Linked DNA regions of Homo sapiens: regions 2 and 3 are each linked to region 1. Evidence: promoter capture Hi-C in human tissues and cell types (Jung and others, 2019). All regions are on one chromosome and are shown on one strand. The core of a region is centred on a gene start or on the middle of the fragment in contact, and the rest is flanking DNA. Distances in the headings are between cores, read along the strand shown. Region 1 holds the start of ZNF778 (zinc finger protein 778). Region 2 holds the start of TCF25 (TCF25 ribosome quality control complex subunit). Region 3 holds the start of FANCA (FA complementation group A).

Region 1 (3,174 bases), core at 414-2,913:
GTTCATAGGAAGCAGCAAGAAATGGAGGAATATTTAAACGTATCACGAGAAAACAACACCAAAGTCAATATGATAGAGAAACCACAGGGGTTGTTCTAGGTGAAAAGACATAAACGATGGGAACAGATAAACCTTGAAGGGCTCTTAGTCCCCAAAATACCCAACAGCGCAATGTTGGAAAAATGTTGAGAATCCTAGATATTACACAAAGTAGACAGTGGATGACCTCCTTCTTATTTTTTTATTTTTTTATTTTTTTGAGACGGAGTCTTGCTCTGTCGCCCAGGCTGGAGTGCAATGGCACGATCTTGGCTCACCGCAACCTGTGCCACCCAGGTTCAAGCGATTCTCCTGCCTCAGCCTCCCGACTAGCTGGGATTACAGGCATGCGCCACCATGCAAGGCTAATTTTGTACTTTTAGTAGAGACGGGATTTCTCCATGTTAGTCAGGCTGGTCTTGAACTCCCGACCTCAGATGATCCACCCGCCTCGGCCTCCCAAAGTGCTAGGATTACAGGCGTGAGCCACTGTGCCCAGCGGACCTTATTATTTTTAATTATTATTATTATTTTTTGAGACGGAGTCTCGCTCTGTCGCCCAGGCTGGAGTGCAGTGGCGCCATCTCGGCTCACTGCAAGCTCCGCCTCCCGGGTTCACGCCATTCTCCTGCCTCAGCCTCCAGAGTAGCTGGGACTACAGGAGCCCGCCACCACGCCCGGCTAATTTTTTGTATTTTTAGTAGAGATGGGGTTTCACCGTGTTAGCCAGGATGGTGTCGGTCTCCTGACCTCGTGATCCACCCGCCTCGGCCTCCCAAAGTGCTGGGATTACAGGCGTGAGCCACCGCGCCCGGCCTAATTTTAATTTTCTTAGATGAAATACTAATATTGTGGTTTCAGTAGGATAATGTCCTTACCCTTAACAGACGCTTTACCAAGTATTTAAAGGTTAAGTATCATGTGTGCAGTTTAATTTCAACTTACTTACACTCAAATAATAATTCACCGTAAGGTTTATTTATTGGGGGAGAGAGAAAACATGGCCCAAAGCTAAAAAGGAGTAAAACGATTGCAGTGGATATTCCTTGTAGCAGATGTTCACATTTTTATTAGATTCAGATTTTCTAAAGCAAAACGTGAGAAAAAATACAGTTAGTCGAAACACACTGTTCACCGTGGATTCGATTACTCCAAGACCAGCGGGACAACGGCCGCATCCCTCCCGCCCCGAGGGCCGGGCCTGGAAGTCCCGGCGGCGAGGGACGCGCGCTCCCGCTGGCCCCCACGGGCTAACTTTCACAGGGAGCTGCACGCCCGGGGCGCTCAGGGGTCTACCTTACGCTTCGGTCCCAACACAATGTGCCAGAAACAAATAAAAAACGTCAAAGCCGAAGCCAGATTCTCACAGAAACACGCCCTGTTCAAAGTGAAGGAAGCAAAGGGCCCCTCTCTCACCAGCTCCGCGGAATGGAAGCGCTGCCCGGGTCTACCGCGAGCGGCGGCGACTTTCCCTTCTGGAAGCGGTGCCGGGGGCGCAAGGCGCGAGGCAGGCGGGCGGGCGCCCACTCCCGGACCAGCTTCCCCGCGGACAGCCCGAGGACACGCGCGGAACTCTCCGGCGCCAGCACGCACCGCCGCAAGAACCGGATCAGCTGTAAGACAGGCGGAGGCGGGGCCGGCGCCGGAAGAGGGGCCGGCGCGTCTTTGGCGTCACTTCCGCCTCCAGCCTCCGGGCCGAAGCTTTGGCCTATGGTGCGGGGAGGTAGTAGTTTCTTCCGCGAGGGTGCGGGAGGGCCCCGGGGCGCCCTTGGGAACCGGGCTGGAGGCAGAGACAGGCCCGGAGGACCAGGCGGACGTAAGGATCAGGCCTCTGGACGCAACTGCGGAGCCGGAACAGACCAGGAGGGCGCGGTTGGGCGGGTACAGCCAGGAAGTGCTCGTCGCGAGCGCGGCCCGCGGTTCGGTCACAGCGAGAAGCCCGCGGGTGCTGGGAGTGCTCGGTCTTCTCTCGATCTCTGCAGGGAGTCACTGGCCCCGTTCCTTTTTATCTGTCTGAACATCACGCCGAACTTTTAACAGTTGATTCCACTGCATTTTCAATGTGGTATTTTTTTTTTCTGTAAATGTTCATCTATTTTTCGCTTCAAATATGCGTTTCTGTTACTTTTCTAATGTACCGTAGGAGCCAAGACCACCTATACTACGTTGCAAAATAGCACTGATACCAGGGGTTCTCCCAAGGTTCATTCAGAAATGTCACATGATTCCAGTAACAATACGAAAAGGTTTTTTTTTTGGAACCAGGCATATTGATCCTGGAGTTCACATGGAGGAACAAATGTCTCATAACGCAGACGACGCGGACAAACAAAAGCGCAATGCCCGACAGATGCGAAAACAGCCTCTGTCATTAAAACTGTGTGCTAGTGACACATGAACAGGAAACAAATGGAATATCCAGACATCAACCCAGTAACATGGAAATTTGGTTCATAAACATAATTTCAGAGCGGTGGAACAAACATGCAGTTTATAATGAAAGGTGCTAAGACAAATGGTTAGCCGTCTGAGAAATGATGAAATTAATTCTGGATCTCACAGGGATAAACTCCAAACGGATCAGGAGTCTAAATGTGAAAAACAAAACAAAACCACATGTGAAGTGTTCACGTGATTTCGTGGCTGATTAAGAAACAAGATGTGCCCAGGAGGTGGCGGTGGCGCACAAGCTTTGACAGGTTGGAGGGTGAGGGAGTCTCACGCACCATGAGATTACCCACAGGCTTCGAATTGGGGGTCACTACTCAGAAAAGAGAAAAAAATGAGCGTGGGCGGGGGGCGCGCAGAGAACTCCCAGAGAAGAAGGAGATCAGACAGGGGGAGGGCTGACGTGACTAGATCACGTTTCTCAGCAGCCTGACAGGTGTCTGAGTCACAAAGCTCTGAAGGGCAGCAACGGCTTGCAGTCTTTAGAGCCCCAGGATTTATCTTATCTATGGCTAGCAGAGATTGGACACAATTTCACGAAGTATACAAAGCAACCACATGCTAAATGGTTCAACACTATGAGTGTTTGGGATGTGTTTTATTTATTATTTATTAATTTTGATACGGAGTCTCCCTCTGTCGTCCAGGCTGGAGTGCAGTGGCACGATCTTGGCTCACTGCAACCTC
Region 2 (3,174 bases), core at 173-2,672, 660 kb before region 1:
CAAAAAGCTTTCAGTAACTGCTGTGAATCTAGCAAATTACTGAACCTTGACGGGGGTCTTGGGGACCACTAAAGGTGGACTTGATGCGAGAAGGGCAGTCAACCAAGCATGGTGACTCACGCCTGTAGTCCCAGCACTTTGTGAGGCTGAGGTGGACAGATTGTTTGAGCGCAGAAGTTCTAGACCAGCCTGGGCAACAAGGCGAAAACTCTTCTCTACAAAAAAGAAAAAAAAAAAAAATTAGCCGGGCGTGGTGACATCCACCTGTAGTCCTAGATACTCAGGAGGCTGAGGTGGGAGGATCGCAGAGCCCGCAGAGGCAGAGTTACAGACGGAGGCCAGGGCTTAGGAGAAAACGTCACAGGACCGCATGAGCAAACCATACAGTCAAACTGTTACTTCCCTGTGCCAGAAACGAGCTGCCGGAGATGCAGCAAAGAGTAAGACTAATCCGCTGGGTTAGGCTGATGGGGATGCGCGAAGAGCAAGGCCCTGGGTTAGGCAGAGTTGTTGTGAGGATTAAAGCAGAATGCTCGCAGAGGCCTGGCAAGTCCTCAACCCTGGAACCGAGAGAAGGCCCCTCTAGACTCGAGAAAGGGAAGCCCCACCCGACTCCTGCCCCTACGCCGTGGCCCCACCCCCACGGTGGCCCCAGGCCTCATTTAACCCCGCCCACGCCATCGCCTCGCCACCCCCCCGTCTTTAGCCACGCCCTTTAGCGTCACGGCCCCACGACAGCCACGTGGCCGCAGGCCCATTTAATCCCGCCCACGTCGTGGCCCGGCCCCGCGGACGTTGGCCACGCCCTTGGCATCAAGGCCCCGCACCCTCCACAACCCGGACCCCGCTTAACCCCGCCCATTCGGTCGCCCCGCCCCGACAGCACGGCCCCGCCCCATCCCTTAGCCCCGCCCACCTCACCGGGGTTAGAACCCAGTCTAACTCCGCGGCCCGCCGTCTTCACCCCACGCCACCGCCCACCCGCGTCGCCCTGGCCCCGACGCACGGCCCCGCCCTCCCCACTGCGGCTGGGACCCACGTCACCCTTCCCACCCCTGGCATCACAACCCCGCTCCCCGACCCGGCTGGACGCTCGCCCCGCCCCACAACGTCAAGGGCCACCCCACCCCCACCCGGGCCGCCGCGCTCCTCACCAGCTCGAAGCGGTTGTTGACTCGGACGCCCTCCTTCCCTGCGCCCCCGGGACGCCGGACACCAAGCTCCCGCTTGGGCCCTTCTTCTTCCGCGTCATCGTCATCACGGAGATCGAAATGCAAGGCGCCGGGCCCGAGGGGCTCCTGGCCGCGCTGTTCCCCCCTCAGCCTCCGGAGGGCCCGGCGCGACATAGGACCGAACGACCACGACGTCTGGAGAGAGGGAGAAGGAAGCGCAGAAAACTCGGCTGTCGGCGCGCCTGCGCACTCTTCGCGCGGGGTCGGGGGCGGGGGAGCTGGCTGCGCGCCTGCGCACTCTTGGCGCGAGGGGTGGGGGCAGGACCTGGCTGCGGCGCCTGCGCGTCGCGGCTCTCCGGAACTTTCCCGCTTCAGCGGCGGCGTCTGGGCGGGCTCCGGGGGGTCCGGGCCAGGTCTCTGGAGAGCTGGGTGTCTGCGCGCCGTGCGCACCGGGCATGGAGAGGTGCCCCGCGGGGATGACGGGCTTCGATTCGGGGTAACGGGCGCGCAGCCGGCGACAGTCGGCCCTGCCCGGCCTTGCCCATCCATGTGGCCCGGAACCCGCAGCCGCGTTCTGCCCGCCGGGGCCTGTCCCCGCACCGTGCCTGCAGCATTTCAGCTGCGTCCCGGACGTTGCTAGTTGGTCCTTTTCGTGTCAGGGTGTCATTCGAGTGATCTAGCCGTCGATGCCCGCCTCTGCCCTGGAGCCGCCGCCCCTCGAGCAGCATTGAGTGACGCGGCCCTTACTGCCCGCCCGAGGCCTCTTTAGGGACAGTGGTTCTGACAGTTCTAGGACAGGCCGCCCGCGTTTGTCACGATCTAAGGGCCGGGCGCGGTGCTCACGCTTGTAATCCCAGCACTTTGGGAGGCCAAGGTGGGCGAATCACCTGAGGTCGGGAATTCGAGACCAGGTTGGGCAACACGGTGAAACTCCCTCTACTAAAAATACAAAAATTAGCTGGGCGTGGCTGCGCACGCCTGTAATCCCAGCTACTCGGGAGGCTGAGGCTGCAGTGAGCCGAGATCGCGCCACTGCACTCCAGCCTGGGCGACAGAGCCAGACCCTGTCTCAAAAAAATGAAAAAAATAAAGTAGATGAGGCTGAGACAGTGCTGGGTTCAGTGGGCGGAGGGCACAGCTTCCTGTGCCTGGGGTTGGGGACATGGGGACAGGAGGGCATAGAGAAGACAGGTGCCAGCAGCCTCCTGCCCGACTTACTGCGGCTTCATGAGCACAAGCAGCAGCCCTGGTGAGCCGGCCTGGCCCCTCCCAGGATGGGTTAGGGTTTTATTTTATTTTGTGAGATGAGGTCTTGCTCTGTTGCCCAGGCTGGAGTGCAGTGGCGCAATCTCGGCTCACTGCAACCTCCATCTCCCAGGCTCAAGCACTTCTCCTGTCTCAGCCTCCCGAGTAGCTGGGACTACAGGCATGTGCCACCATGCCCGGCTAATTTTTGTACTCAGTAGAGATGGGGTTTCACCATGTTGGCCAGGCTGGTCTCGAACTCCTGACCTCAAGTGATCTGCCCACCTCACCCTCCAAAAGTGCTGGGATTACAGGTGTGAGCCACTGCACCTGCCGTGGTTTAGGGTTTTAACGTGGGCTTTCATTTCCAAGTGTTCCTGTATGAATTACAACCCAGTCTCCCCATGATAGGGAGTGTGAGTCCCCGTAGAACCAGAACAACCGTCGTCCTTACCAAGCACTACACATTAGCTTATTGCTGGCTGTGTGACCGGAGGAGTTCCCTGACCCTCTCTGTGCCTGTTTTCTTATTTTTAAACAGGAATAAAAATACAGGCCAGAGAGTCCGTGAAATGCTTACACGCATGCTAGAAGCTGGCTGTTTTTACTGGGGGCTCTAATTTTGTGTGTTTGGATTTCCTGGACCCCAGCTGACAGGAGTATTTTCTCCCGCAGGCCCATCAGTTACAAGTCCTGTCCCTTCTGACCTCCAGGCCCCACGGCTAGCATTACAGCCTGGAGTCAAAGTTCTGGGTGA
Region 3 (3,174 bases), core at 312-2,811, 600 kb before region 1:
TTCTCAGCTGTGTTGATCCTACTGCTGCCCCATCAGAAAAATTACCTGTTATCAGCGTTCTTCCTTTCTTATAATTTGATGAGTTTCCTCCTCATGCATATTGTTCACCTTTCGTACAAGAGACCTCCACATATTAATCACAGTTAATTTAAATTTCCAGCCTGTTTCAATTTCTCGATCACCTCTGAGTCTAGTCCTGTTAATTGCTTAGTGTTATTTTTTGTTTTTGAAACAGGGTCTTGCTCTGTTGCCCAGGCTGGAGTGCAGCGGCGCGATCTCAGGCTGTTCCCTGAGTTCACACCATCCCCCTCAACCAGCAGATTGCAAAGTGTCCGAGTCGGGCCGTGCAGGAGTCTTTGTGGGGGTTTCATGGACTCCGAATTCTCATTTCTGCTCCATCCCCATCTCATGAATCCAAGGCCCCACTCTGTGCCTCGGCTCTTCGTTTGTGGTGCTGAACGTCATCTACGTCATCTACGCCATCTACGTAATCAACACAATAAAGACGCCTGCCGGGAACGCGGCCCTTCGGCTGAATCCCTTCGGTGGTTCCAAGGCCACTGCCAGAGGATGCGGACGGGTCTCCAGGGCCTCTACTTACCCAGGACTTTGAGGCACATTAGCTTCGCCTAGGCACTCGCTTTTACGAATTCTTATGTTTGGTTTTGTTTTGAGACAGAGTCTCGCTCTGCCGCCCAGGCTGGTTAAAAGATAGGGTCTCAGCCGGGTGCGGTGGCTCACGCCTGTAATCCCAGCACTTTGGGAGGCCGAGGCGGGCGGATCACCTGAGGTCCGGAGTTCGAGACTAGCCTGGGCCAACATGGCGAAACGCTGTCTCTACTAAAAATAACAAAAATCATCCAGGCGTGGTGGCGCGCACCTGCAATCCCAGCTACTCGGGAGGCTGAGGCAGGAGAATCACCTGAACCCAGGAGGCAGACGTTGCAGTGAGCCGAGATCGCGCCACTGCACTCCAGCCTGGGCGACAGAGGGAGACTCCGTCTCAAAAAAAGGAAAAAAAAAAAAAAGAAAAGAAACAAAAGTGATGGGGTCTCGCTCTGTTGCCCAGGCTAGTCTGGAATTCCTGGGCTCAAGCGACCCTCCAGCCTCGGCCTCCCAAAGCGCTGGGAATACAGGCGCGGCTACCGCGCGGTCTCCGGCTGCCGAAACACCGCCCTGCGCGCGGACCGTTCGGCCGCCGGGAGGAACAGCGGCTGCCCGGAGCTCAGAGGCGCGCGCGGCTTTGCGCTCCCCGCGGCGCTCTGAGCCTGCCTCGGCTTGGTTGGCCAGGTGGTCTCTTCAGGACCAACCCCAGTCATTCCCGGCAGGAACCACGCTTGAGGGGCGGCAGTCTGCCCGCGCGAGACGCCCCCGCGGACTACACCGCGGCGGCAAAGCCAAACGCAAAAACTACCTCACCGCGCGCAGGCGCCTCCCCCAGGACCAACATGGCCACGACGCAAGGCCTCGACCTGAGGGGCGTGGCCTGGCCGCCGCCAGCCAACGGGTGTGCGCGCCTGGCCGCAGCCAATAGGAAGGCAGCGCGGGCTCGGGCGCAGGGAGCCGCCGCCGGGGCTGTAGGCGCCAAGGCCATGTCCGACTCGTGGGTCCCGAACTCCGCCTCGGGCCAGGACCCAGGGGGCCGCCGGAGGGCCTGGGCCGAGCTGCTGGGTAGGTGGGCGCGGCAGGCCGCGGGAGTGGGCGGCGTCCGGCCCGGGACGGTTTCGCCGGTTCCCCGATCCCTTCCCGCCAGAGCCTCCGCCGGTCGGATCCCCGGACGCCGCGCCCGGGGGGCTGTGCGGGGTGGGCGCCCGGCTGGGGCGGCGCGGCTGCCTCGGACCCGGCCCCTCCTGCGCCTGGGCGGACGCCCCCAGCCGCCGCCCGCGGGGCGCTCCCTTCTTTCCCGAACGCCGCCCCCGCCGGCCGCCCTGTCAGGCGGGCCTGGGGTGCGCGGCCTGGGGCTCCCCTCAGCGCAGAGGCCGCCCCTCGCCAGCCGTCCCCGGGCTCCCCTGCCTCGGGCCCTCCTGGGCCGTCTTCCCCGGCGTCCGCGGTGGGGCCGTCTCCGTTAGTTTCCCGAGACCTGCGCCCTGGGGAGGAGCCCCGGCCCCTCTTCGGGAGGGTGTCGCTGGTGGGTTTCTCCGCGGCGTCCACCTGCGCGTCGGGCCGGGGACCCCGTGTGTGAATTGTGCTGTGATGGTTTCGAACCGACTTCTCTCCGTAGCGGGAAGGGTCAAGAGGGAAAAATATAATCCTGAAAGGGCACAGAAATTAAAGGAATCAGCTGTGCGCCTCCTGCGAAGCCATCAGGACCTGAATGCCCTTTTGCTTGAGGTAAGAGGAAGCTGGTGTCCGTCTGCGGGCAGATTTAGGTTCGGGGTTTTTGAGTCCAGCCACCGCACAGCTTTCCTAAGAAAACACCCGAGGCGGCGGGCGCGGTGGCCTGGCCCGCAGAGGGGAGGGTCGCCTGAGCCCGGGAGTTCTGGACCAACCTGGGCAACGGGGTGAGACCCCGCCTCTTTTATTAAAAACAAAACAACAACAACAAAAAAACAGGCCGGGCGCCGTGGCTCAGGGCTGTAATCCCAGCTTTTGGGGAGGCCAAGGCGGGTGGATCACTCAGGGTCAGGAGTTCGAGACCAGCCTGGCCAACATAGTGAAACCCGGTCTCTACTGAAAATACAAAAATTAGCTGGGTGTGGTGGCGCACGCCTTTAATCCCAGCTACTCGGGAGCCTGAGGCAGGAGAATTGCTTGAACCTGGACCCGGGAGGCAGAAATTGCAGTGAGCCGAGATCACGCCCCTTGCAATCCAGTCTGGATTACAGAGTGAGACTGTCTCACAAAAAAAAAAAAAAAAAAAAAAAAAAAAAAAGCCGGGCGTGGTGGCTCACGCCTGTAATCCTAGCCCTTTGGGAGGCCGAAGTGGGTAGATCACTTGAGGTTAGGAGTTCGAGACCAGCCTGACCAACATGGTGAAACCCCGTCACTACTTAAAATACAAAAATTAGCCGGGTATGGTAGCAGGTGTCTGTAATCCCAGCTGCTCAGGAGGCTGAGGCAGGAGAATCGCTTGAACCTGGGAGGTGGAGGTCGCCGTGAGTGAGATCCCGCCATTGCACTCCAGCCTGGACGACAGTGAGACTCCCTCTCAAAAAAGAAAAAAAGGAAAATAGC

Evidence for each region. The method cuts DNA at HindIII sites, captures the fragments that hold promoters and counts their contacts. A contact is called where the count stands out against the background at its distance.
Region 2: the fragment with the promoter of TCF25 here is called in contact with the fragment with the promoter of ZNF778 in region 1 in 1 of the 25 tissues and cell types used here (mesendoderm cells).
Region 3: a contact is called between the fragment with the promoter of FANCA here and the fragment with the promoter of ZNF778 in region 1, in 2 of the 25 tissues and cell types used here (lymphoblastoid cells and mesendoderm cells).

The regions. Positions count from the first base shown.
Region 1 is chr16:89,216,192-89,219,365 of GRCh38, reverse strand. It overlaps ZNF778 (zinc finger protein 778), which reads right to left and starts at 1,663. Exons shown (of 7, transcript NM_001201407.2): 1 at 1,456-1,663. It overlaps ZNF778-DT (ZNF778 divergent transcript), which reads left to right and starts at 1,713. Exons shown (of 1, transcript NR_186410.1): 1 at 1,713-3,174. RefSeq lists enhancers at 247-776, 777-1,307, 1,832-1,881, 2,831-3,125. The HindIII fragment of the contact is 6,098 bases long and covers 1-2,235 here.
Region 2 is chr16:89,871,840-89,875,013 of GRCh38, reverse strand. TCF25 (TCF25 ribosome quality control complex subunit) reads right to left here and starts at 1,422. Exons shown (of 18, transcript NM_014972.3): 1 at 1,155-1,422. The coding sequence starts at 1,346. It overlaps LOC112268179 (a long non-coding RNA gene), which reads left to right and starts at 1,526. Exons shown (of 2, transcript XR_002957933.2): 1 at 1,526-2,046; 2 at 3,093-3,174. RefSeq lists silencers at 638-1,107, 1,578-1,697 and enhancers at 1,778-1,937, 1,708-2,664. The HindIII fragment of the contact is 23,130 bases long and covers 1-3,174 here.
Region 3 is chr16:89,815,034-89,818,207 of GRCh38, reverse strand. It overlaps FANCA (FA complementation group A), which reads left to right and starts at 1,561. Exons shown (of 43, transcript NM_000135.4): 1 at 1,561-1,671; 2 at 2,222-2,331. The coding sequence starts at 1,593. RefSeq lists enhancers at 898-947, 1,333-1,627 and silencers at 1,488-1,777, 2,008-2,057. The HindIII fragment of the contact is 15,845 bases long and covers 1-3,174 here.